6 separate regions of the Homo sapiens genome follow, and regions 2, 3, 4, 5 and 6 are each linked to region 1. Evidence: promoter capture Hi-C in 16 types of primary human blood cells and fetal thymus (Javierre and others, 2016). All regions are on one chromosome and are shown on one strand. The core of a region is centred on a gene start or on the middle of the fragment in contact, and the rest is flanking DNA. Distances in the headings are between cores, read along the strand shown. Region 1 holds the start of FAM91A1 (family with sequence similarity 91 member A1). Region 2 overlaps ZHX1-C8orf76 (ZHX1-C8orf76 readthrough). Region 3 overlaps LOC101927588 (a long non-coding RNA gene). Region 4 overlaps ATAD2 (ATPase family AAA domain containing 2). Region 5 overlaps NTAQ1 (N-terminal glutamine amidase 1). Region 6 has its middle 50 kb from the start of NTAQ1.

Region 1 (3,783 bases), core at 335-2,834:
TTGACTTTAATTTTCATTGTTACTTATATTGCATTAGATCTAAGTTAGACTTTGGAAGAATATGGGTTCTTCCACACTTAGAACTGTAAAGCATTATTTTAGAGGATGTTTATGTCGTTGACTTTGAATGAACATTGTCTAAATTGGAACAGGAGGTAGAAGAGTTCAGTGAGTGAGAGCCTGAGTTGGGGAACTGAAAGGATGGCTCTGGAGTGAGGATAGCCTTCGGCTCCAGTTTGGCTCTGTCAGTGCTACCTGTGTGATCTTGCGAGCAAGTCATGAAGCCCTGCCAAGCCTCAGTCTCCTCCTCTATCAAACTGGGATAGTAAGTGGTTACTGTTGTAGGAATATCAGGGTTGTGAGGAATAATCTATTGTCAAGTCAAGGCCTTAATACATGGCGGGCAGGTAATCAATATTTGTTGAATAAATGTCTCACGGTTAGAGTTCAGTTAACCTTAGCTATGCTGATGAGGATCTGTAAACATAAGGTTCAAAGCACTTATCTTTGGGTTATTATAGTTGGATAATAGGAGACCAAAACATCTAAGCAAGGGCAGTGTGTACTTGTCACCTTTATTTCATCAGACATAATGGGGTTTCTGCTAAGCATCAGACTTGCCAGCTGTTGAGGTGTGAGCTAGGTATCTTATAAAAAGTTCTAAGTATACATCTCCCAGTATATAATAAAACATTATTTAAAACCATTGTTAAAAACTGAAAAACAGTTGCAATAACACTGAACTTGTCTCTGGTTGCTGCCAGGAATAATGGTCACGGGTTTGCTAAGGCAGCGTAACAACTTCTGAAAGAAATTATTCCCAAAGACCTTATCACTCAATCTGAAATTAAGACATGCTGGATTTTTGCTTTTAAGTGACTCTGGAGGCATTTGTGTGGAGCAGAATAAAGCAGAAACCGACAGGCTGCATGACAAAGTTGGCAAGGGTATCTCTCTGTCAGCCCTGTAGGCTGCCTCGACCTGTCAGCACCACTGTTTAAAATTTCAGCTCCCTGAATCCCTGCATTGTAAGAATTTGGATCTTCTTGGGAAGTGGAGCCCAATGACGTGCAGCACACCGCGGAAGGGAAGAGGGCTTACCAGACCTTTGCTCTCCCACTGCCCATGCTTCTCGCTCAACCCGGTGCGAGACCTGACTTAGAGATTATTTCTTTCTCCAGGGCCCTGGACCCGTCCCCGCAACCCCCCGCCCCGTCTCACTGGCCCGGGTTCCGGGCTGGCCTGTGGAGAACCCCCGCGAGCGCACCGCACTCCAATGTAAAGCCAGCCACTGCCGGCCCGCTTCCCAGGTCGCTTTTCTCTGAAAACCGACCCCAGTGCCTCCGGCTTTACAATTTGAGTAAACTGGGTCATCAGCAACGGCAACGCAGACCCAAGCGACTATCGCCGTTCATTCAGAGACTGAAACGGGGAGACGAAGCGCGCGGGCGGGGAACGCTCACCCGGGCACCTCCCGGTACCTCGTCGTCGCCCCGCCCCGCAGCCTGTAGAGGGCGTGGCTAGAGGCCAGTCCGTGCCCCGCCCCTCCGGCCGCGCGCCAGCGGGCGGAAGTGACGTGTGCCCAGAGCCATTTCCGGCGGCCCGAAACTAGGAAGAAACTTGGAGCTGTTCAGGCGATCCAGCCTCCAATCGCTGCTGCTCTTGTACTCGGTTGGCCCGGGCGGCGCTGAACTGTCGGGAGCCTAGGCCATGGGGCAGCCTGGGCCTTCTGCAGTGTGAGGCGCGGGGCCTCCCGCGTCGCTCCGCTGACAGGCTGCGGGCGGGCAGGCGGGAGGCGTAGTGTGGGTCGCGGTGGCGGCCCCGGCCGCCGGCCCTGGCCGCGGCATCATGAACATAGACGTGGAGTTCCACATCCGGCACAACTACCCCTGGAACAAGTTGCCGGCCAACGTGAGACAGGTACGGCCGGAACCTGGGACCGGGCCCCTGACGGATTCGGCCCGCCCAGCGGTCACCTGCTTGCCTCGCTCGCGGGGCCCGAGCGGGCTGCTGCCGGCTGACTCCCTTCCTTTACTCCTCCGTGGTCTTGGGGAGACGGACCTTCAGCCCAGGGCGAGGAGGGGACGGCTGTGGGGCCACAGGGCCAGGACGGGGCGATCGCTAAATGGGATGGCATGGTGTCCACAGGACTCGACTGGCGCCTTTGCCCGCAGGATACATTCAGCCAGGCACCTGCGATAGAGATTTTAAACACGGTCCTTGACCTCCGGAATTTCAGGATGGTGGGAAAGGGATGGGAAACAAATGAATACGATACAGGATGATAGCAGCTCATACACACCTGCATTGTAGTATATGTGAGAGCAGAGGGAGGGAGAAATTATCCTGGGAGAGTTGGAAGGATTTTTAAGGCAGGCACTTAAATTGGGCCTTGGAGGACGAATAAGAGTTAAATAAGAGGGAATAAAGATTTTTCCAGGGGGAGGGAAAGTCATTTTACAAAGCTTGGATGAGTGAAAGAACATGTCTCATGAGTAGCAAGTGACTGTATCACCAGAGTTTGGACTGACATGTTTGGAGTTGAAGTTTTTTGAGTGCGCGGGGCTGGTAGCAGATGAGCCTGGAAAAGTGGTCAGGGCCAGATTTTGAAGGTGCTTGTGTGCTTTGTTTTGTTGGACTTTATCCTCCAGACAAGATGGGTTTATCAGAGATGTTTCAACAAGAGTGACATGAGGTTTTTGAAAGTTAATTCTCGATTTTTTTAGTCTGTTTTACTCAATTGTTTAATAGATATTTATTGACCACCTACTAGGTGCTGTGCGTTGCTCTAGGTGCAGGTAATTTGCAACAGTCAACAAGACAAAGACTGCCTTCATGGAGCTTACATTTTACTAAAGAAAGACGTAAACAAATAAATGAATAAATACGTAACATAGCAGATGGTTTTAAGTCTTACGAAAGTAGTGATATGGGCTACAGATAACGCACTGCTGCTCTGGTCATAGATTGACCTTCGCTTCCTCCCATTATACTTGGTCGAGAGTGAAATTCAGTTTTCTGTTGGCACTCGGCAGTGGCATTTTTGGGAAGTTTGGAATGGTGGCGGTGATGGTATATAAGGATTATTTATTTATTTTTATTTTTATTTTCATTTCTTTGAGACAGAGTCTCCTGTTGCCCAGGCTGGAGTGCAGTGGTGTGATCTCCGCTCACTGCAAACTCTGCTTCTTGGGTTCAAGCGATTCTCCTGCCTCAGCCTCCCGAGTAGCTGGTACTACAGGTGCGCGCCACCACGCCCAGCTAATTTTTGTATTTTTAGTAGAGACGGGGTTTCATCATGTTGGCCAGGCTGGTCTCGATATCTTGACCTCATGATCCGCCCGTCTCGGCCTTCCAAAGTGCTGGGATTACAGGCGTGAGCCACAGTGCCCAGCCAGTATGAGGATTGTTATAGTTTAGTTTACTTTGCTCCCTTCCTCCCTTGGGGATTTAGTGCCAGGAAGTGAATATTAAGGTTCTGGTCATGCATCATGTGGCCAAGAAAATGCTTTCACTTTAATATAGCAAAAACCGAGAAAGATAAATTTAAAGAACTTGAATTCTTGGGTGTCAGTGGCTGCCCGTGTGGCATTTATCTTAAACTGGGAGAACAAAGCTCTAAACCTGAAGGAATAAATTTCTTTTGTTAATCTTGAATAAAGGCTTTAAAGGACACTTTTGTACTTTAGGGTTTTGTGGCAAATCCAAAGACACAAGAAGAACAAACAGTTCTTCTTTTCTTTGTTTCCATTTTTTCTCTACTCTTTTCATCAGAATAAATGT
Region 2 (3,783 bases), core at 649-3,148, 500 kb before region 1:
CAATAATATATGATATGGCTATGACTTCGATATTTTAATTTTGTTAAGATAAATTCTGATAATATTTTTTAAAATCTAAAACTAAGAACTGAAAATTAAAATCTTGCATTAAAAATGATTTATTTGGCTGAGTGCAGTGGCTCACACCTGTAATCCCAGCATGTTGGGAGGCCAAGGCAGAAGGATTGCTTGAGGCCAGGAGTTTGAGACCAGCTAGGGCAACACAGTAAGACCCTATCTCTACAAAAAAAAAAATTAAAAATTAGCCGGGCGTGGGTGACACATGACTGTAGTCCTAGCTACTCAAGAGGCTGAGGAGAAAGGATCGCTTGAGCACAGGAGTTTGAGGGTGCAGTGAGCCATGATCATGCCACTGCACTCCAGCCTGGGCCACAGAATGAGACCCCGTCTCAAAAAAAAAAAAAAAAAAATGTATTCAACTGGCTCCCTTGAATAAACATAATTCTTAAACTGCTCATATATACTTATTTTACAAAGTATATCATCACATTTGTTTAGACCAAAGGTATACAGTCTTACCTCTTAAGTTGGAAACTGATTGTATAAAATGCCAAGATTAAGTATCTTTTAAGATCAAAACCTGGCAACTACATACAAAGTTACATATTAATATTTACTTTAAGAATATCCTGTATAAAATGCAGATCTCCAAAATGTAAACTCAAATGTATATTCTGATTAATAATCTAAGTCAGCAACTTTAGTCATGCAAATCTGGTTATTGATGACTACAAATATATCAGAGCAACAAGGATACAATAAAATTTATCAATAATAGTATAGAAACATTGGCTCTTATTCTAAAGATAGTATCAGTTTTAAAAACAGAACTATAACTTACTTTTGAAACTACGTAGGATTATTTAAAAGGATTTTAAGTTCAAAAAATTTAGTCTTAACAGTAAATGTGCTTATCACAACATAAATAAATATTTATAATGATTTAAAAAATGTGTATTACTGGCTAGCACCATAAACAGTACAATAGATAATTCCAAAAATCTCTCTGAATAATTGCACTGACTATGATATTAGATTAAAAACTAGGTGCTGAACTTTCAACACTGTTTATTTAAGTAAAGTCTTTGGGCCCAAATCCACAATGCTGCAACACAAATAAAAGGGTTATTTCCTCAGCTACATTTGTGATCATTTTAATAATTTTAAAAGCATTTTCATTTAAGTATTAAGTTATAATTTACAGCAAACTAAGTCTCAAATATCACATTTTATGCTTAATTAGCATAAGAAATATAATACATCATAATATAACCTTTCCATCTTAATATAAAATATAATAATACAAAAGGGAGAAAAATCTTCAAAATGAACCACCTCTCCTATGCTATTAATTTCGCTAATAACTGTAAAACTTTGTCCCCAATTATTGAAAAAAAAAGAACTTACAATTATCATTAAAGGTGAAATAATTGCTACATCATGCATGAACTACCCCCCAAATCCGGTGAAATAATAAGCTTAGCTATAAAGGAAAGAAATCCACTAATGAGTGTTCACTAGCACAGGCACATTTATGTTTTCGGATTTAGCATATTTTCAAACCATCTGGCATTAATGCCTCTCTGGTTCACCCAGCCTAATCTGTTCAGAATTGAATATAAAACCAGAGCTACATGAACATTGAGGAAACCAAAGAACAGCACACGTGCATAAAATGTTCCAAATGTAAAGTTCTAAACTAGTTTCTATTTGAACTGTATCTTTAAAACATTTCCATTGAAGACGTTAAAGCTCTTTCGAAAATACAAGAATGGTTCAAGAAATCTCTATGAATCATCACTATCATCAGTTACCCAAGTATTACCCTTTCTCATTTTAATCCTGATTGTCAAATAAGGCGTCTGAAGAGGTACTTCAACAAAAAAGATTCATTGATAACTGAAATGCTATCATTTTATATCGAAAAGGTCCACGATTATACATTTTACTTTGTATAAAATTAGTCTGCTTAGCCTTAACATGCTTTGGGAAAGGAGAGAAAAGCTAAAAGGAAAAAAATATTCATGAAAGCCCTTTTTCTTTTATGTCCTGTTACCGCATTATTGTCATTGGCAGCACTCACATTTCTTTTGCTTAAAATCAGGAGTCAGAATTGCTACTTTAGAAATTAAAATAATCGATGGGTATACTAGGGCCAATTTCCCTGTTAAAACCAACTCCTGCTCACCTTCGCTCCCGACATAAAAACAAATGACTTTTTCAGAATAATTTTTCAGAAACGAAGATAATTAATGTAGCACCATATAACACAAATTAAAGCTTTCAGACAAAGACTGAGAAACAATGACCAACACCAGCAAATCTAAAGTGCTCTTATATATGTATACACACAACACACACACACACCCCAAACCAAATATTCACTGTTCCTGGGGGGAGACTGCTTCTTCCTCCCTAACCGTGAACCGCTGTATATTTTCCAATTTTGTGATTTTCCTTTTTCTGCTATCACATTAACCTCCAAGAGAACTGCTTAAGTTACATGGAATCCCAACCTAATCACATCACGACTTCTCTCTCAGCCTTTACATTTTTCTCTCAAATATTAGCTCTTCGCATTTTTTTTTTTTTCTAATAGCTGGGCTGAGTTGACAGAAAAGGGCTGTGGAATTCCTGCTCTGTCCGATATCTTCCCTGTATTCCTCTTTTCTCATCCCTAGTCTCTGTTCTAATTCCCCCGCCTGCTGTCTCTCATTGACGCCTTCCCAGCTGCTGGATCCTTCACTAACCTAAGCTAAGGATATCAAATGGAATCTTTTCCTTCTCAGGGGCTATGCTCTTTCCTTACAGTTACCCACGGAGGAGAGAGGACAGGAAAGGTACTAAAACAAAGAATTGCCAAGTCCCTTTACCTCCAACTTTGGTGTAAATATATAAGGAAAGGGGATCTGCCAGGGCTCTTCTTTCCTGCCCTTAGACCTTGTTCCTCTCACACCTCTCCTTCCCAGCCTTTTATACCCCTTGAGGTATTAGTAGATTGTTCACTGTGGGCCCTAAGGCTTGGAGGATTCCCATGGGTCAGCCCCCACACCCCCACGCCCCTACCATCCTCTTTAATTAACTTCTCCCTAAATCCCAGGGCTTCGTCACAATCGTAATATGGTTCTTAAGGACTCAACTCCCAGTCTTTCCCAAAGTTGGGACATGGCCTGGCCCCGAAACGGGTGCGCATAGCCTTCCTTGAACTGGAGGTAAAGACTTCTCCTGAAGGGTTTGCTGGGGCTCCAACCTCAGTCAGTGCGCTCAGCTCCAGCAAGAGAATCTCTCCTTACTCTCAGGGAGACTGGGTCCCCCACGAGGCAGCCACACGCCCCCGGAGGACAGCGCTCCTGACCTCCTCTAGGACTCCCAACATTACTGGGGTGCTCCCTCCGGCGGCGCCCTCCGCTGGGAATACGCAGTCTTCACTCCTCTCAACAATCCTAAGTTGCTGGGTCCTCACCAAGGCAGGGGGCTGAGATGTTCCCTCCAGAGAGCCCCCCGCCCCCAAGCTCTTTCGGTGGCGGAGACACCCAAAAAGAGCGAGGGAGGCTGTGGGTCTGTCTGTCCCTCTGCGGCGACTACCCAGCCGCGAGGCAGGCCCCGTCCCTCCCCCTCGGACGCCCCACGCCGGGTCCACCCCGCCACCCGCCGCCGCGAGCGGGCTCAGCCCCAGGGGTCTCTGCTGTGAGGCTGCCCTCCTCCCGCCAGGCCCCGCGCTACTCGCCTTTCCCGTGCCGGCCGCGGACTCTGCGCTCCAGT
Region 3 (3,783 bases), core at 679-3,178, 430 kb after region 1:
GGCGGGTAGATCACCTGAGGTCAGGAGTTCTATACCAGCATGGACAACATGGCGAAATCCCGTCTCTACTAAAAATATAAAAATTAGCCAGGCATGGTAGCGCATGCCTGTAATCCCACCTACTCGGGAAGCTGAGAATCGTTTGAACCCGGGAGGTGGAGGTTGCAGTGAGCTGAGATTGCACCACCACACTCCAGCCTGTGCAACGGGAGTGAGACTCCATCTCAAGAAAAAAAAAAAAGAAAGAAAGAAAGAAAGAAAATGTATTGAATTAATGTTACTGAAATAAGGCCAGAAAACCTAGATTCTATTTCTAAATTTACCACTAACAAGTTGTAGGAACTGGGAAAGACCTTTCATTCACTGGGACCTAGCTTCCTGTTCCATAAATGGAGAGAACAGAGCTGGGTCAGTGATGGCAATATGTGACCACTTTCTCATCCTATGCCCAAGACAGATGTGACTGTAAGACCAGGGTACCATTTCTGCCTGAGCTCAAAGTAGGCTTCTAATGTAGAGCTTTATCCAGCCCCTCCCAAACAATTGCTATTGGCACAAATAAAATGCATTTGCCACCCCTTGGCCCAACGAGCTCTCAGATCCATTCCAACTCTATTTAATTCATGAAAATTCTGGCCCTGGATTTTGTCATTTCTCTGCAGTGTTGGAAGAAAAATAGGAACCGCTTATCTGTGATTCCACAGAGCAGAATCCTGCCAGAAGCAGATCCCTGCTGTTCTCCTGACAGATCATGGGCTGTGCTCAGAACTTCAGGGGCAGGGGTGTAGGGGCCTGCCACAAATGACAGGAGGCCACGATTCCATTTCGTCTTCTTCCTTAACTCTGATCCACATGAATGGAAAGCTTTCCTTGCTCTGACATTACTGGAACATCACATAGTTCTCTTATGAAATGAATCTCTATTGCTGAAGTGGCTTGATATCAACAATAAGGCAGCCAAAGAGGTACATGGAAAAACCCCACTGTCTTCCCATGCTGATTGGCTTACAGGATGAGGGGGTGATGGAGGGCCAGTGAGTCAGAGCTATTTCTACAGAAGACATCCAGAAACACCAAGTTAAGTCAAGTTGCTGAGTCTGTGGTGAGCCCAAGACAGGAGGTAACAGAAGAATGGAAAATCAGGACAGCATTGAAATCTGATGCTGAGTTGACAAGTTGCTGTCAAATGCCAAGCACAGAGGACAGCAGGAAGTGAGCCAACTGCAGAGAGCTGAGCACCTGGCCAGATCATCAGGCTACCTCTGTCCAGACCTCAGCAGTGCCCAGGCCTTCACGTAGCAGTCACAGGTCACTGCATCCTGCCAAAAAAAGGCAGTCCATTCTTCAAGGTGTCTGTTTGAGTCTAGTGTCAAATTACCCCAGATTGTCAGCAAGTGCCTGTGGCCCTGGCTTGCCCTGGTAGATGAGTCAGCCCAGCTGTGAAGAAAGCCCTGCCGGGCCCTGGGAGGCCAACGCATGCCAGCTGAGGCAAGAAGACAGCATCAGCCCTGAAGCCTGTGTGGACAAGGAGCCCACTCCCTAACTGAGGCCTGGGACCCCTAACCCCACCCCGACTTCAGATGGGGCTGTGTTTCCAGGACTGCCTCATACCCCATTTCAAATCAGGCTACTCAACAGTGACATTTAGTAACAGAAATCATGAAGATTCATTAGATGACTCAGAGAAAAAACAAACAAACACTCTCTCCAAGAAAGAGAAATTCACAGGAAGGGGCCACATCCATCCAGTTCTGCCCTTCCCGTTTCTCTAGCTCAGTGGTTCTCAAAGTGTGGTCCCTGGACCAGCAGGAGTGACAGATTTTTGCCACGACACCACTTCAGTAATGTTAATTAAATATATTTCCATTCTTTTAAGAGTCAACATAGCTTAGTGAGAAGAGCAGAAGCTCTGGAGCTTGTTAGAAATGCCCCACCCCAGACCTCTTGAATCAGAAATACTGGGGTGGGGCCCAGCCATCGGTGGCCTAACCAGCCTTCCAGGCGATTCTGAAGCCTGCTGAAGTTTGAGAACAAGGACGTCTCCAGCTGAACCAGCCACCCCTCAGGAGTAGAGGGAATTCCTGCTCCCCGGCCCAACTTTGTTATGGAAACCTCCCAGGACAATCTGCATCAGCGAGCTGATCCTAGTCCCCAGCAGCAGGTGACAAAAGGATCTGGCCTCAGGACTGTGTCATCCCTAGGACGTGATAACAGGCCATTGTGGCTGGGGCATATTAGTGGGTGCAAAAGGAGATATAAATCTCGTATTTGGGAAAGGAATGGGAGGGACTGAAGAGCAAGGAAAACTAAGCCCCTTCTTATCTCCTCAATGCTCAGCCACTAGAAACTCGTAATTAGAGCTATTAATAGCCACCATTTATGTAGAAGCTGCCATGAGCCAGGCACAGTGGGACATACTTTACCTGTTTCATCTCTCAGCAAATTTTGAGGGACGTAGCTTTATCCACCCCATTTGATAGAAGAAGAAACTGAGGCTCAGTGAAGCTAGACGTCTTGTTGGAGTGTGTTCTTTGCACGCATGAGTTGGGACCCGACCTCACGTCTAAGTGGGCCATCTTGACCACAGCACTGCCTTAATCCAACAACCATCGTCCCTCCCCACCCCCTCCACTCTTCAAAGGGCCTCATCGTGGGTGATGTGGGGCCAGACTAAGACCAGGAATGTGGACTTTCTCACACATAGTAGGTGCTTAACAGATGGTAGTGCTCTCTCCTTGCCTCTTTGGACACCCACAATGGAGTGATTCAGAGCCCAAGTTTTGGGCAGATTGTACATGCATGGGCTAAATGGGCTCTGAGAGTCAGCATCCAGCTTCACAAAACAGGAATAATGATAGCTGCCTCCCGGGGATGTTATGGAGATGCAATCTGCTATGTCTATAGCTATGTCTATAAAGCTATGTCTATAAAGCACACAGCGTTCCACACGTAATAAGCAGTGACTAAGTGGTCATTACTACTTTACCATAGTCAAGCTTAATACAAGTGTGTGAAGAGACAGGTAAGGGATTTTCATCCCTACTTTGTGGTTACAGACATAAGCTTCAGAGAGGCTGAGGGGCAGACCTAGAATGACACGGCTGGGAGGGTGATGGCAAGAGGAGAAGCTCAGCCACCCACCCGGCATCAGCTTCCATTCCTCCATGCTATGCTGCCTGGCCTAGCAAGGGCACCCCTGTGTCATGTTGATTCTCTTTTTATTGCAGAAACTCGCTCCCGCTTGTGCACAGTCCAGGAGCTTTGCCCCAACTAGTGCTGTCACAAGTCATGTGACAACAACCAGGGGAATGTTCCCATTAACAGAGACGGTGGGACGCCAAGGCATGCTCCCACCTCCAGCCTCCCATCATTGTTGTAACATCTTTGGACACCTCCCTCCTTCTCCCAAGGAAAGCCACAGCCCTGTGAGTGACCAGAGGCAACAGAACAAAGACCGGATTCTCAGTTTCCTGATTCCCTCGCACAGCACGGTCTCTCTGCAGGGAGTCTGGGAATCCTGACACTGCCTGGATGGAGTGTCCACACCAGTGGCTAAAGGTCAGAACTGTCTCTTCGCCAACCAAGGGTGGCTGCTCCTATGTGTCTGTGGCTCTGGCTATAACCCTCAGAGGTGTGTGTTGAGCAAACAGAGCCAGCTTCTGCCATCCATTAGTAAGAGCTAACATTTACTGCGTGCCCACGACCTGCCACGTGTTGTTCTAGCTGCTTGCTAATGAACAGCAGCGAATGGTTGTAATGGTTATAATGGCCGGGCACACTGAA
Region 4 (3,783 bases), core at 392-2,891, 380 kb before region 1:
GATTTGGCAATGATTTCTTGGATGACACCAAAAGCACAGACAACAAAATAAAAATATGTAAGTTAGACCTCATCAAAATGAGTACCTTTTATGCATAAAGAACACTATCAACAGAGTGAAAAGGCAACCTACAGAATACGAAAAAAATCTGCAAATCATATACTGATAAGGTATATAAGGTTTTATATATACATACACACACACACATATATACACGCATACATATATATATCTCCAGAATATTTAAAGAACTCCTTTGCAAAACAAGCAAACCAATTAAAAAATAAGCAAAAGATGTGAATAGAGATTTCTCCAAAGATAGACAAATAGCCAATAAACACATGAAAAGATGCTCAACATCACTAGTCATTAGAGAAACGCAAATCAAAACCACAGAGATAACACTTCACACACATTAGGATGGCTACTCACAAAAAAAAAAAAAAAGGAGAAAATAGCAATTGTTGGTGAGGATGTAGAGAAACTGGAATCCTTGTGTGTTGCTGGTGGTAACATAAAATAGTAAGGCAATTCCTCAAAAAGTTAAACACAAAATTTCTATATGATCCAGCAATTCCACTTTTGGGTATACACTCAAAGAAGCGAATGCAGGGACTTGCACAAATATTTGTACTCATGTTCACAGCAGCATTATTCAATTCCCAAAAGGGGAAGCAACCCAAGTGTCCACTGACAGATGAACGGACAAACAAAACATGGTACATACAATGGAATATTATTCCTTCTTGTTTAAAAAAGGAAATTTTAACACATGCTACAATATGGATGAACTCTGAAGATATGCTAAGTGAAATAAGCAAGTCATAAAAGACAAATATGATTAGTCTAGGAATATGAGATTCAGAGAACAGTCACATTCAGAGACAGAAAGTAGAACAGTGGTTGCCAGGGACTAGGAGGAGAGAGGAACTGGGAGTAAGTGTTTAATGGGTACAGAGTTTCAATTCTGGAAGATGAAAAAGTTCTGGAGATGAATGGTGATGATGGTTGCAGAACAATGTGAATGTACTTAATGAACTGTAAGCTTAAAAACGGTTAAAACGGTCAATTTTATGTTATGTATATTTTGGTACATTAAAAAAGAAAATAAATGCTACCATATTCCTGAGGATAAAAAAAGATTTTGTTTCCTTACAAAACAAGAAAAGGGGTGGATGGGGACAATACTAGGAAAAAACATTTCCTAAGAAACTTGGAAGACAATCTTATAAGTGGTATAAGAGAATCTTTGATGTGCATAGTGAACGGCTTGTCATTCTCTCCAAATAAGTACTAGGCAGCAAGAAAGACTCAACAATGTGGGCAAAAAAAAAAAAAAATTATGTGGGAGTCCTCTATATAGAGTATACACTAAAAAATTTTTAAATGCATCTTTCAAAAACAGTTCTAACAAAAGCAATATAAAAATAAAGGCAATACATGCCCATTATTACTGGAAAAATGAAAATGTCACCCTTAATTTCAGCCACTCACAGACAACCTCTTTTAATCTCTTGGTGCAAAAACCATTTTTTTCCTATGCAAACATATTTACATGATTTTAAAACTGAGATAATACTATATGTTTTATAAGTTTTTTCTAGTAATATCAATATTTTTTCATGTCATTAAATATTACTCTAAAAATTTAATGAATGAATAGTATTTCAGCCATTACATGAATCTATTTAACAAATTGCTGAATGTATTATATTTAGGTTGCCTGCAATTTTTTCTGATGTTATAAATATCTCTAGATGAATTATCTTGTGTATATCTTCTTTCCTAAGGAAGACTAGCACAGGTATTAAACCGAAGTCATCTAATTCCCAAGAGGTAAGTTCAACACTGTTAACAGTAATTAACATTGGATGACAGAGATGGGGACTTTCACTTTCTATTTTTCACATTTTCACATGTATTACCAGAAAAAAATTCCTAAAAACTAAAAAACAAAGAGAAAACAAACTTAGTCTGAAATTTTAACCTAGAGATGTAATATTCTCATTTATTCTTTGGCTAAAATCTACTTAAATATTGAGAGCACTTATAGTTCTTTAAAAGTGAAGTTTTAAGAGAGGAAATGTTAGTATTTTGTTAAATTTTAAGTTTCTCACAACCTTGCAGAATCAGTAAGTTAACATAGAGAAAAAGCAGCAATAAAATAACAAAAAAGTTTTCCTAAAGTATACACAGTTGCATAATAAAAATATTCTATGTTATTTTTCACAGAAGACCAAGCTTATTCAAGCTTTAAATTCATTTTTTAAAAAGCATGTTTGGGGGGGAGGTCAGTTGTTTGAGTCAATTCAAATATCAACAAATGAGGTTGAAATAGGATGTACTCAACACAAATTTAGGGCTCCCTGAAAACTTAAACAACAGTATATTCTAATACATGATATACATGTTATATCACTATAGTTGTGATATCCTTCCTTAGTTTTGTCTTTAAACATGAGTTTAAACCACTTCACCATCTACTCGGTAAACTCCAACTTAGTTTCTACCTCCACAGCTCTTTCAGTACATTCACAACTGTCTCCCAATAGCTACATCCAATAGCCTTTTCTCTACCTCACTGAATTCTACAGAACTGATCACTACCTTCTTTATTTATTTTTAGAGATAGGATCTTGCTCCTTCACCCAGGCTGGAGTACAGTGGCACAATCATGGCTCACTGCAGCCTCAACTTCCTGAGCTCAAGAGATCCTCCTGCCTCAGCCTCCCCGGTAGTAGCTGGGGCTACAGGCATGTGCCACCACGCCTGGCTACTGATTATGTATTTTATCTTATTTTATTTTATTATTTTGAGACGGAGTCTTGCTCTGTCGCCCAGGCTGGGGTGCAGTGAGTGTAGCAGCACGATCTCAGCTCACTGCAACCTCTGCCTCCTGGGTTCAAGCGATTCTCTCTCTCAGCCTCCTGAGTAGCTGGGACTAGAGGCAGGCACCACCACACCTAGCTGGTTTTTGTAGAGACAGGGTTTCACCACATTGCCCAGGCTGGTCTTGAACTCCTCGGCTCAAGTTATCCACCTGCCTCGGCCTCCTAAACTGCTGGGATTACAGGTGTGAGCCACCATGCCCAGCCAATTTTTATTTTTTATTTTAGAGATGGTGGGGGCGGGGGGGTGGTCTCACTATGTTGCTCAGGCTGGTCTCGAACTTCTGGTTTCAGGTGATCCTCTCACCTTGGCCTCCCAAAGTGCTGGGATTAGAAGTGTGAGCCACTGTGCCTGGCCAGTACTTTCTTAAAATGCTTCGGTCCCTTGGTTTACTTAATACTCTTAGTTCCATGATTCAACTTCTCACCTTTAAAATACAGGCATTGCTTCAGACCTCCTTAATTCTTTTTGTGCTTTGCTGTTTTCTTCTCTCTCTTTTTTTTTTTTGACACAGAGTCTCGCCCTGTCGCCCACGCTGAAGTGCAGTGGCGCGATCTTGGCTCACTGCAAGCTCCGCCTCCTGGGTTCACGCCATTCTCCTGCCACGGCCTCTAAAGTAGCTGGGATTACAGGAGCCTGCTACCACGCCCGGCTAATTTTTTTTTTTTTTTTGTATTTTTAGTAGAAATGTGGTTTCACCGTGTTAGCCAGGATGGTCTCGATCTCCTGACCTCCTGATCCGCCCGCCTTGGCCTCCCAAAGTGCTGGGATTACAGGTGTGAGCCACCGTGCCCGGCCTGTGCTTTGCTGTTTTCTATTCATCCTCAAGGACAAGCAGTCCCAACCTCTTAGCAATTCTGGCATAAAACTCCCAATGGTCGGCCGGGCGTGGTG
Region 5 (3,783 bases), core at 824-3,323, 330 kb before region 1:
AAGACAATTCTTCTTCCAGTGTGGCCCAGGGAAGCCAAAAGATTGGACACCCTGGAGTTAGATACTCCAGTTATCTCCATTTTATAAAAGAGCAGAGTGAGGTTGCCGAGGGGAGGGGCTGAGATTGGAACCAGGCGCTTACCTGCTCCTGCCTGCATTGCTCTCCTGCCTGCATTGCTCTCCTGCCTCTGATGTTCTCTGTTCTCCACAATATCCTGCAGCAGTTTACCTGGTTCCCATTCACTTCTCTGGGAACTTCTTGAGGGTGAGAACTTATCTTTTTCATCTTTGCATCTGCAGTTCAGCAGCACAGTCTTTCACATAGAATAGATAATGTGTGGTTCAAAAAAACTGATATGGGACTGGGCACAGTGGCTCACACCCATAATCCCAGCACTTTGGGAGGCAGAGGCAGGGAGATCACTTGAGGCCAGGAGTTCGAGACCAGCCTGGTCAACATGGTGAAACCCCATCTCTACTAAAAATACAAAAATTAGCTGGGTGTGGTGGCGCGCCTGTAATCCCAGCTACTCGGGAGGCTGAGGTGGGAAAATCACTCGAACCCCGGAGGTGGAGGTTGCAGTGAGCTGGGATTGTGCCACTGTGCTCCAGCCTGGGTGACAGAGAGAGACTCTGTCTCAAAACAACAACAACAACAAACCTGTAATATGAATTAGAAGATGTTAAGAGAGAAACAGAATTTGGATAAGGCGGAGATTCTGGCAGGGGGTGGGAGAAGATAAAAAATTGATTCGTGGGAAGAAAGCCTTTAGCTGGAGCTTGTGTGGTAGAAAGAGGTAGAGAAGGTTGCTGCAGATGGAGGGGAATGACATGAGCAGACCCATTGGGAGGCAGTGGTGGACTGTTTGGGGGCGTGGAGGATAGGATGTATCTGGGGAAGTCCAGAGAATAGGCATTCATTTTTGAATCTTTCTGTTTTGCTAAGACAGACTTAGAGCCAAAGGCAGCACTCAGGCTTTTAAAGGCACAGCATCCCTAGTCTTAAGTATTGTTCTTACCTCAGGATTTATACAGGGCTCAAGTAGAATGATATTTGAGAAAGAAAGTGCCTTTTAAACTCTAAGATATTGTAGAAATATAAGTTGGTATTACTAATGTTGCTAGGTTGCTTTGATTTCACAGTGCTGTTCTCTATGAGAGCGTTTTTCTTTGGAAGAACTCAGAGCACCACATTGCTCATGTCCCTTGATCACCTCCCTGAAATCCCTTTCAGCTCATCGCTGGTGTTGGGCAGTACCTTGAGTCTGAGAGTGAGGGTGAGAATTAACATCCACACTGTGACAGAGCTGTGTGGGAAAAGCTGTCTTTTTCTTTCTCCCTTAGTGGCTACAGATGAAAGCTTGGCTAACTTCTTTTTTTAAAAAATAGTTTTTCCTTTCTTTTAATTGCAAAAGTGGTTCCAAACTAGAAATTAAAGTCCTCCTTCTCCTCTCCAGGCTGACCCCCAGAAGCCTCCTTTGTTACTAGTTTGGAGCAGATCCTTGCAGACGTTTTCCTCTGCATTCACATGCATGCAAATGTACTTCTGAATGCGCACGTATGTCTTTATATACAGATAGCTTTTAACAAATAGCAGGTGGGGCCGGCACTGTGGCTCACACCTGTAATTCCAGGACTTTGGGAGGCTGAGGCGGGGGGATCACTTGAGGCCAGAAGTTGGAGACCAGCCTGGCCAACATGGTGAAACACCATCTCTACTAAAAATACAAAAATTAGCTGGGCGTGGTGGCGGGTGTCTGTAGTCCCAGCTACTCAGGAGGCTGAGGCAGGAGAATCGCTTGAACCCAGGAGGCGGAGGTTGCAGTGAGCTGAGATTATGCCACTGCACGCCAGCCTGGGTGATAGAGCAAGACTCTGTCTCAATTAAAAAAAATATGTGGGGCCAGGCACCGTGGCTCACACCTGTAATCCTAGCACTTTTGGAGACTGAGGCGGGTGGATCGCCTGAGGTCAGGGGTTCAAGACCAGCCTTGCCAGCATGATGAAACCCTATCTCTACTAAAAATACAAAAAATTAGCTGGGCATCGTGGTGCGCGCTTGTAATCCCAGCTACTCGGGAGGCTGAGGCAAGAGAATTGCTTGAACCCGGCAGGTGGAGGTTGCAGTGAGCTGAGATCATGCCACTGCACTCCAACCTGGGTGACGAGAGTAAGACTCCATCTCAAAAAAAAAAAAAAAAAAAAAGTTTCCTAGAGGTAAAATTGCAGTTTCAGAGGATGTGCATTTAATGACTATGAACATTTCCATTATTTAACCATTTCCCTATCTGTGGACATTTAGTCTGTTTTCATGTTTTCAGGGTGTTGTGTTTGCTTTATTCTATTTTGCTATTATAAGGAGGGCTGTAGCAGTCCTATATCCTTTTTAGTGATAAGGTATGTGTCTGAATACTGGGATTTCATCATTATGAAGTAACTTGGTTAACTTCAGCAACTTTTACTTTTAGGATTACCATGTTGTTTTGCTTCATGTTTCAAGTGGAGGACAGAACTTCATTTATGATCTCGATACTGTCTTGCCATTTCCCTGCCTCTTTGACACTTATGTAGAAGATGCCTTTAAGTCTGATGATGACATTCACCCACAGTTTAGGAGGTGAGGACATTCAAGATGGATTTACTTATTTTCTGAAGTAAGAATTTGACGATTCCACAGAGGTTCTTTTTTTTTTTGACAATTGTTTTGTAAAGATCTCGTCTGACATCACCATTGAGTTGATGTTTAAGAATGATGTATTTGCAACACAGGAGATTCAAAATGTTTTAAAGCTTTAAAAGTTATCTATCATATGAAAGGTTGTCATTCTTTTAAAATTTTGTGTGATGAGATCTCAGACATTTAATTTCAAGCGGGTTGGGGATTTTTCTTATATTCTTTTTGTTTTTGTGGGGATACCTCGTGCTGTCACCATTGAGAGGGCTGTGAGGGCAGCATCAGAAAATCATGCCCATTGCCCTTGATACACAAATCGAGTAAATCGAGGCAACCAGATATATTTTTGTGCCTTTGCCTTTCTGTTTCGGGGTTTGGTTGATCATTTCCTATGCTTCTCTAATAGGTAGTAAAGTTGCCTGTATTACTAACCATACAGAAATGCATGAGTAGTTTTGTGCATGTCATAGGAAATGAGTCGATATAAAAATGGAGTTAGAATTTCAAACATGACATCTCCCTAATGTGAGTGTATATTGATTTTTCTGCAGGAAATTTAGAGTGATCCGTGCAGATTCATATTTGAAGAACTTTGCTTCTGACCGATCTCACATGAAAGACTCCAGTGGGAATTGGAGAGAGCCTCCGCCGCCATATCCCTGCATTGAGACTGGAGGTGAGCCAAGATGCCTTCTCAGATGGGGGTTCTGATTGATCACATACACATCAGCATTTTTCCTTAACGGAGGACAAAAGTCAGGTTGTTCTTTGAATAAAACTCCATGAGTGAATCCCAGCACTTTGGGAGGCCGAGGTGGGCGGATCACGAGGTCAGGAGATAGACACCATCCTGGCTAACACGGTGAAACCCTGTCTCTACTAAAAATACAAAAAATTAGCCAGGTGTGGTGACAGGCACCTGTAGTCCCAGCTACTAGGGAGGCTGAGGCAGGAGAATGGTGCGAACCTGGGAGGCAGAGCTTGCAGTGAGCTGAGATCGGGCCACTGCATTCCAGCCTGGGTGACAGAGTGAGACTCCATCTCAAAAAAAAAAAAAAACAAAAAACAAAAAACAAAAAATTCCATGAATGATAAGGAGGTCATAGGAA
Region 6 (3,783 bases), core at 344-2,843, 300 kb before region 1:
AATTAGCTGGGTGTGGTATCATGCGCCTGTAATCCTAGCTACTTGGAAGGCTGAGGCACGAGAATCACTTGAACCTGGGAGATGGAGGTTGCAGTGAGCCCAGATCACACCACTGCACTCCTGCCTGGGCAACAGAGACAGATTCTGTCTCAGGAAAAAAAAGTGTGGGCCCCAGGGGAGAGACGATACTGAGCCAGAGCCATTTTTAAAACCCTTTTATTTTGAACGAATTTAAGACTCAGAAGAAATTGCAAAAATAAAAGGGAGTTCCATGTACCCTTCATCTGGCTTTCCCCATTGATAATGTAGAACCACCGTACATTTTCAAAACTAGGAAATTGACATTGACATTGACACAATACTGTGAACTAAACTATAGACCTTGATTTTCATGAATTTTGACATGCTCTTGTGTGTGCATGTGTATAAACAGTACTGTGAAATCTTGTCACACATATAGATATGTGTAATCACTACCAAAACAAGGACACCGTCACCAGCTTCCGTCACTGCAGAGAAACTCCCTCATACTAAAGCTTTGTAGTCAGGCCCTCCTGCCAACCCTAACCCCTGGCGACCACTCATCTGTTCTCTATCACCAGAATTTTGTCATTTTAAGAGTGTTCTGTAAATGGAATTGTATAGTACGTACCCTTTTGAGATTGCTTTTTTCACTCAGCATAACATCTTTTTTTTTTTTTTTTTTTTTTTTTGAGACAGAGTCTTGCTCTGTCACTCAGGCTGGAGTGCAGTGGCACGATCTTGGCTCACTGCAAACTTTGCCTCCTGGGTTCAAGCAATTCTTGTGCCTCAGCTTCCTGAGTAGCTGGGATTACAGGCGCCCGCCACCATGCCAGGCTAATTTTTGTGTTTTCAGTAGAGATGGGGTTTCACCATGTTGCCCAGGCTGGTCTCGGAACTCCAGGGCTCAAGCGATCCACCCACCTCGGCCTCCCAAAGTGTTGGGATTACAGGTGTGAGCCACTGCACCCAGCCAGCATGACATCTTTGAGTTCCATCCATATTGTTGCCTGTGTCAGTAGTTCATTCTTTCTCTATAACTTAGAGTTGTATTCTGTTGTATACCCATTCACAGTTTGTCATTCTGCATGAAAGTCATTTTAAATCCTGTCCAAGAGGACCCTCTGGGAGGGTGAGAGGAAGCCAAAGAGTGAAGTCTGAGTGGACGGGATTGCCAGAGAACCAGGGGCTGAGGGCAATAGCAGCTGGAATGGAATGCTTCTCCCTTGTTCTGAGAATTACAACTGGAGAGGTTCCCAGAGATGGGAATCACCAAAGATCCCAAGAAAAGTGCCCCAAGTGAGAGGCAGCTTTATATAGCTGCAAAGCCCAGTGAGCAGGAAGTCAGCTTACAACTGTGCCACTCAGAAGCCAATTAAAGTAGCTCCAGACATAACCACTTACCTCTTTGCCGTCTGTCCATTTGGGCATGGGATCCAAGCCAGTAGCTAGTGAGTGGAGGAGGATTATGGCGCATGGTGCAAGACAGAAGAAAATGACTACTTTCCCCTCACCTCCCTGGGAACTGCCAGCTCTCGCAAAGAAGGGGAAGAAATCTTTTGAGTGAAAATGGAATTGTTGATGAATAGAATGAACTGACTCACTGAATTACTCTAGTAAGACCATGTTTGTGACTTGATGTGACCATCAGACTGTCATTACTTGAAAGTGACACAGCAGGCAGGAGCCTGCAATTGTTTTCATCTGGAGTGAGGACAAGATTCTTTTCTCCTGCTGCCCCTCCTCCCTTTTCCCCCCTGGCAAACTGTATACATGGATGTGCAAATATCTCTTTGAGATCTTGTTTTCAGTTCTTTTGGATATATACCAAGGAATGGGATTGCTGGTCATATAATTGCTGGTAATTCTAGTTTTAATTTTTTGAGGAACCTCCATTCTGTTTTCCATGGGCGATACCATTTTACAGTAAAGGGATGATGGAAGAAAAACAATAAAGTGGCATTTTGATTATGTTACCCTATCAGTTACATAAATAACTTGGAAATAAACATCTTCTATATATAAGTTCTTTTTTTAATAGTATAATTTTCCTTAGAGCAAATTCCTGAGCATGGTATTAATAGGTCAAAGGACCAGGAAATGTTTGTGGTTCTTGAAACATATTCCAAATTGCTTTTCTTTCTTTCTTTTTCCTTTTTTTTTTTTCTCAGTCTGTTGTCCAGGCTGGAGTGCAGTTGCGTGATCCCGGCTCACTGCAAGCTCCGCCTCCTGGGTTCAAGTGATCCTCAGCCTCCCTCAGCTGGAACTACAGGCATGCACCACCATGCCCGGCTAATTTTTGTATTTTTAGTGAGATGGGGTTCCGCCATGTTGGTGAAGCTAGTGTTGAACTCCTGGCCTCAAGTGATCGACCTGCCTTGGCCTCCTAAACTGCTGGGATTACAGGAATGAGCCACTGCGCCCGGCCGCCAAATTGCTTTTCTAAATGTTTGTGCCAACTTACATTCCCACCAGATATTGTATGAAGGTTTTATCACATATTCAATGGCATGAGATAGTGTTATGAGATTGTTAATGTAATGGGATTTAAGTACCATTTTGATGTTTGAAATAATTTTTAAAGTGTTTTCATAAAATAATTCTTGCATTAAGTGTTTTATCAATGTCTTTAAGCTTGGCTTTAGTATCTTGAGTATAGAATGTAGCTGAGGGTCTGATTTCATAAATTAATTACTGGCCATTCATATCCAGGTTCCAGAGGGTTCCTTGGAGCAGTTAGAACCAGACCAAATCCTGTAGAATTGTGAGCAAGGAAGAAAGGGAGAGGCAAGGGCCAGAGGAGCAGTGAATATGAGAGACAGGTTCAAGGTATCTATTTTTATTTTATTTGTTTATTTAGAGATGGAGTTTTGCTCTTGTTGCCCAGGCTGAAGTGCAATGGCACGGTCTCGGCTCACTGCAACCTCTGCCTCCCGGGTTCAAGCGATTCTCCTGCCTCAGCCTCCCAAGTAGCTAGGGTCACAGGCGCCAGCCACCACTCCCCGCTAATTTTGTATTTTTAGTAGAGACAGGGTTTGCCATGTTGGTCAGGCTGGTCTCGAACTCCTGACCTCAAGTGATCCACCCGCCTTCACCTCCCAAAGTGCTGGAGGTTCAGGATCTCTAAATGAGAGGTAAACAAACTGAAGCAGGAGGCCAGATCAAGGAGATGCCCACCATGATGTCAGGAGGTGAGTTGGGAAAGGGCCTCAGGAGATAGGGATTCTTGCGTGGCCCCCAAAGGGGGTAGTGGGGTAGGGAATAAGCTTCCTCCTACCCTAAGCACCAATAAATTCAAAACTTTATTTATGTATTTATCTATTTATGGTAAAAATATAACATAAAACTCACTATCTTAAAGTGTACAGTAGTGTTAAGTATATTTGCATCATCATGCCACAGATCTCCAGAAGTTTTCATCTTGCAAATGGAAACTCTGTACTCATCAAACAACTCCCCATTTTCCTCTCTCCATATCCCCCCACTAACTGCCATTCTACTTTCTGTTTCTATCAGTTTAACTACTTTAGATACCTCGTATACGTGGAATCATAAAGCATTTATCTGCATTATTTTACTTAGCTTAATGTCCTCCAGTTTCATTCATGTTATAGTGTATGATAGGATTTTCTTATTTTGAAGGACTGAATAATATTCCATTGTATGTATATATCACATTTGCTTTATCATTTTTTCCATCACTGAACATTTAGGTTCCATCCACCTCTTGGCTATTGTGAATAATACTGCAAGCGACATAGA

The links. Contacts are between HindIII fragments. The CHiCAGO score rates a contact against its expected background, and 5 or more counts as called.
Region 2: a contact is called between a fragment that was not itself captured here and the fragment with the promoter of FAM91A1 in region 1, in 10 of 17 cell types (fetal thymus, total CD8 T cells, non-activated CD4 T cells and 7 more). The highest score is 8.3, in fetal thymus.
Region 3: a contact is called between a fragment that was not itself captured here and the fragment with the promoter of FAM91A1 in region 1, in 1 of 17 cell types (neutrophils). The highest score is 5.8, in neutrophils.
Region 4: a contact is called between a fragment that was not itself captured here and the fragment with the promoter of FAM91A1 in region 1, in 2 of 17 cell types (fetal thymus and erythroblasts). The highest score is 7.5, in fetal thymus.
Region 5: a contact is called between a fragment that was not itself captured here and the fragment with the promoter of FAM91A1 in region 1, in 1 of 17 cell types (M1 macrophages). The highest score is 5.4, in M1 macrophages.
Region 6: a contact is called between a fragment that was not itself captured here and the fragment with the promoter of FAM91A1 in region 1, in 4 of 17 cell types (M0 macrophages, M2 macrophages, endothelial precursors and 1 more). The highest score is 8.0, in M0 macrophages.

Annotation. Positions count from the first base shown.
Region 1 is chr8:123,766,855-123,770,637 of GRCh38, forward strand. FAM91A1 (family with sequence similarity 91 member A1) reads left to right here and starts at 1,585. Exons shown (of 24, transcript NM_144963.4): 1 at 1,585-1,920. The coding sequence starts at 1,849. RefSeq lists silencers at 1,771-1,920, 3,489-3,538. The HindIII fragment of the contact is 7,175 bases long and covers 1-2,463 here.
Region 2 is chr8:123,270,374-123,274,156 of GRCh38, forward strand. The region is part of intron 1 of ZHX1-C8orf76 (ZHX1-C8orf76 readthrough); the gene reads right to left. All of the region lies in intron 1 of ZHX1 (zinc fingers and homeoboxes 1), which reads right to left. Among named protein-coding and RNA genes, the nearest start is that of ZHX1, 2.0 kb to the right of the region's middle. RefSeq lists silencers at 3,170-3,537, 3,574-3,773. The HindIII fragment of the contact is 802 bases long and covers 1,498-2,299 here.
Region 3 is chr8:124,198,858-124,202,640 of GRCh38, forward strand. The region is part of intron 2 of LOC101927588 (a long non-coding RNA gene); the gene reads right to left. Among named protein-coding and RNA genes, the nearest start is that of FER1L6-AS2, 29 kb to the left of the region's middle. The HindIII fragment of the contact is 2,132 bases long and covers 863-2,994 here.
Region 4 is chr8:123,385,589-123,389,371 of GRCh38, forward strand. All of the region lies in intron 1 of ATAD2 (ATPase family AAA domain containing 2), which reads right to left. Among named protein-coding and RNA genes, the nearest start is that of ATAD2, 9.0 kb to the right of the region's middle. The HindIII fragment of the contact is 1,196 bases long and covers 1,044-2,239 here.
Region 5 is chr8:123,433,985-123,437,767 of GRCh38, forward strand. NTAQ1 (N-terminal glutamine amidase 1) reads left to right here. Exons shown (of 6, transcript NM_018024.3): 4 at 2,469-2,617; 5 at 3,226-3,350. Among named protein-coding and RNA genes, the nearest start is that of NTAQ1, 19 kb to the left of the region's middle. The HindIII fragment of the contact is 1,430 bases long and covers 1,359-2,788 here.
Region 6 is chr8:123,464,887-123,468,669 of GRCh38, forward strand. It overlaps a transcript of NTAQ1 not described here. Among named protein-coding and RNA genes, the nearest start is that of NTAQ1, 50 kb to the left of the region's middle. The HindIII fragment of the contact is 2,119 bases long and covers 535-2,653 here.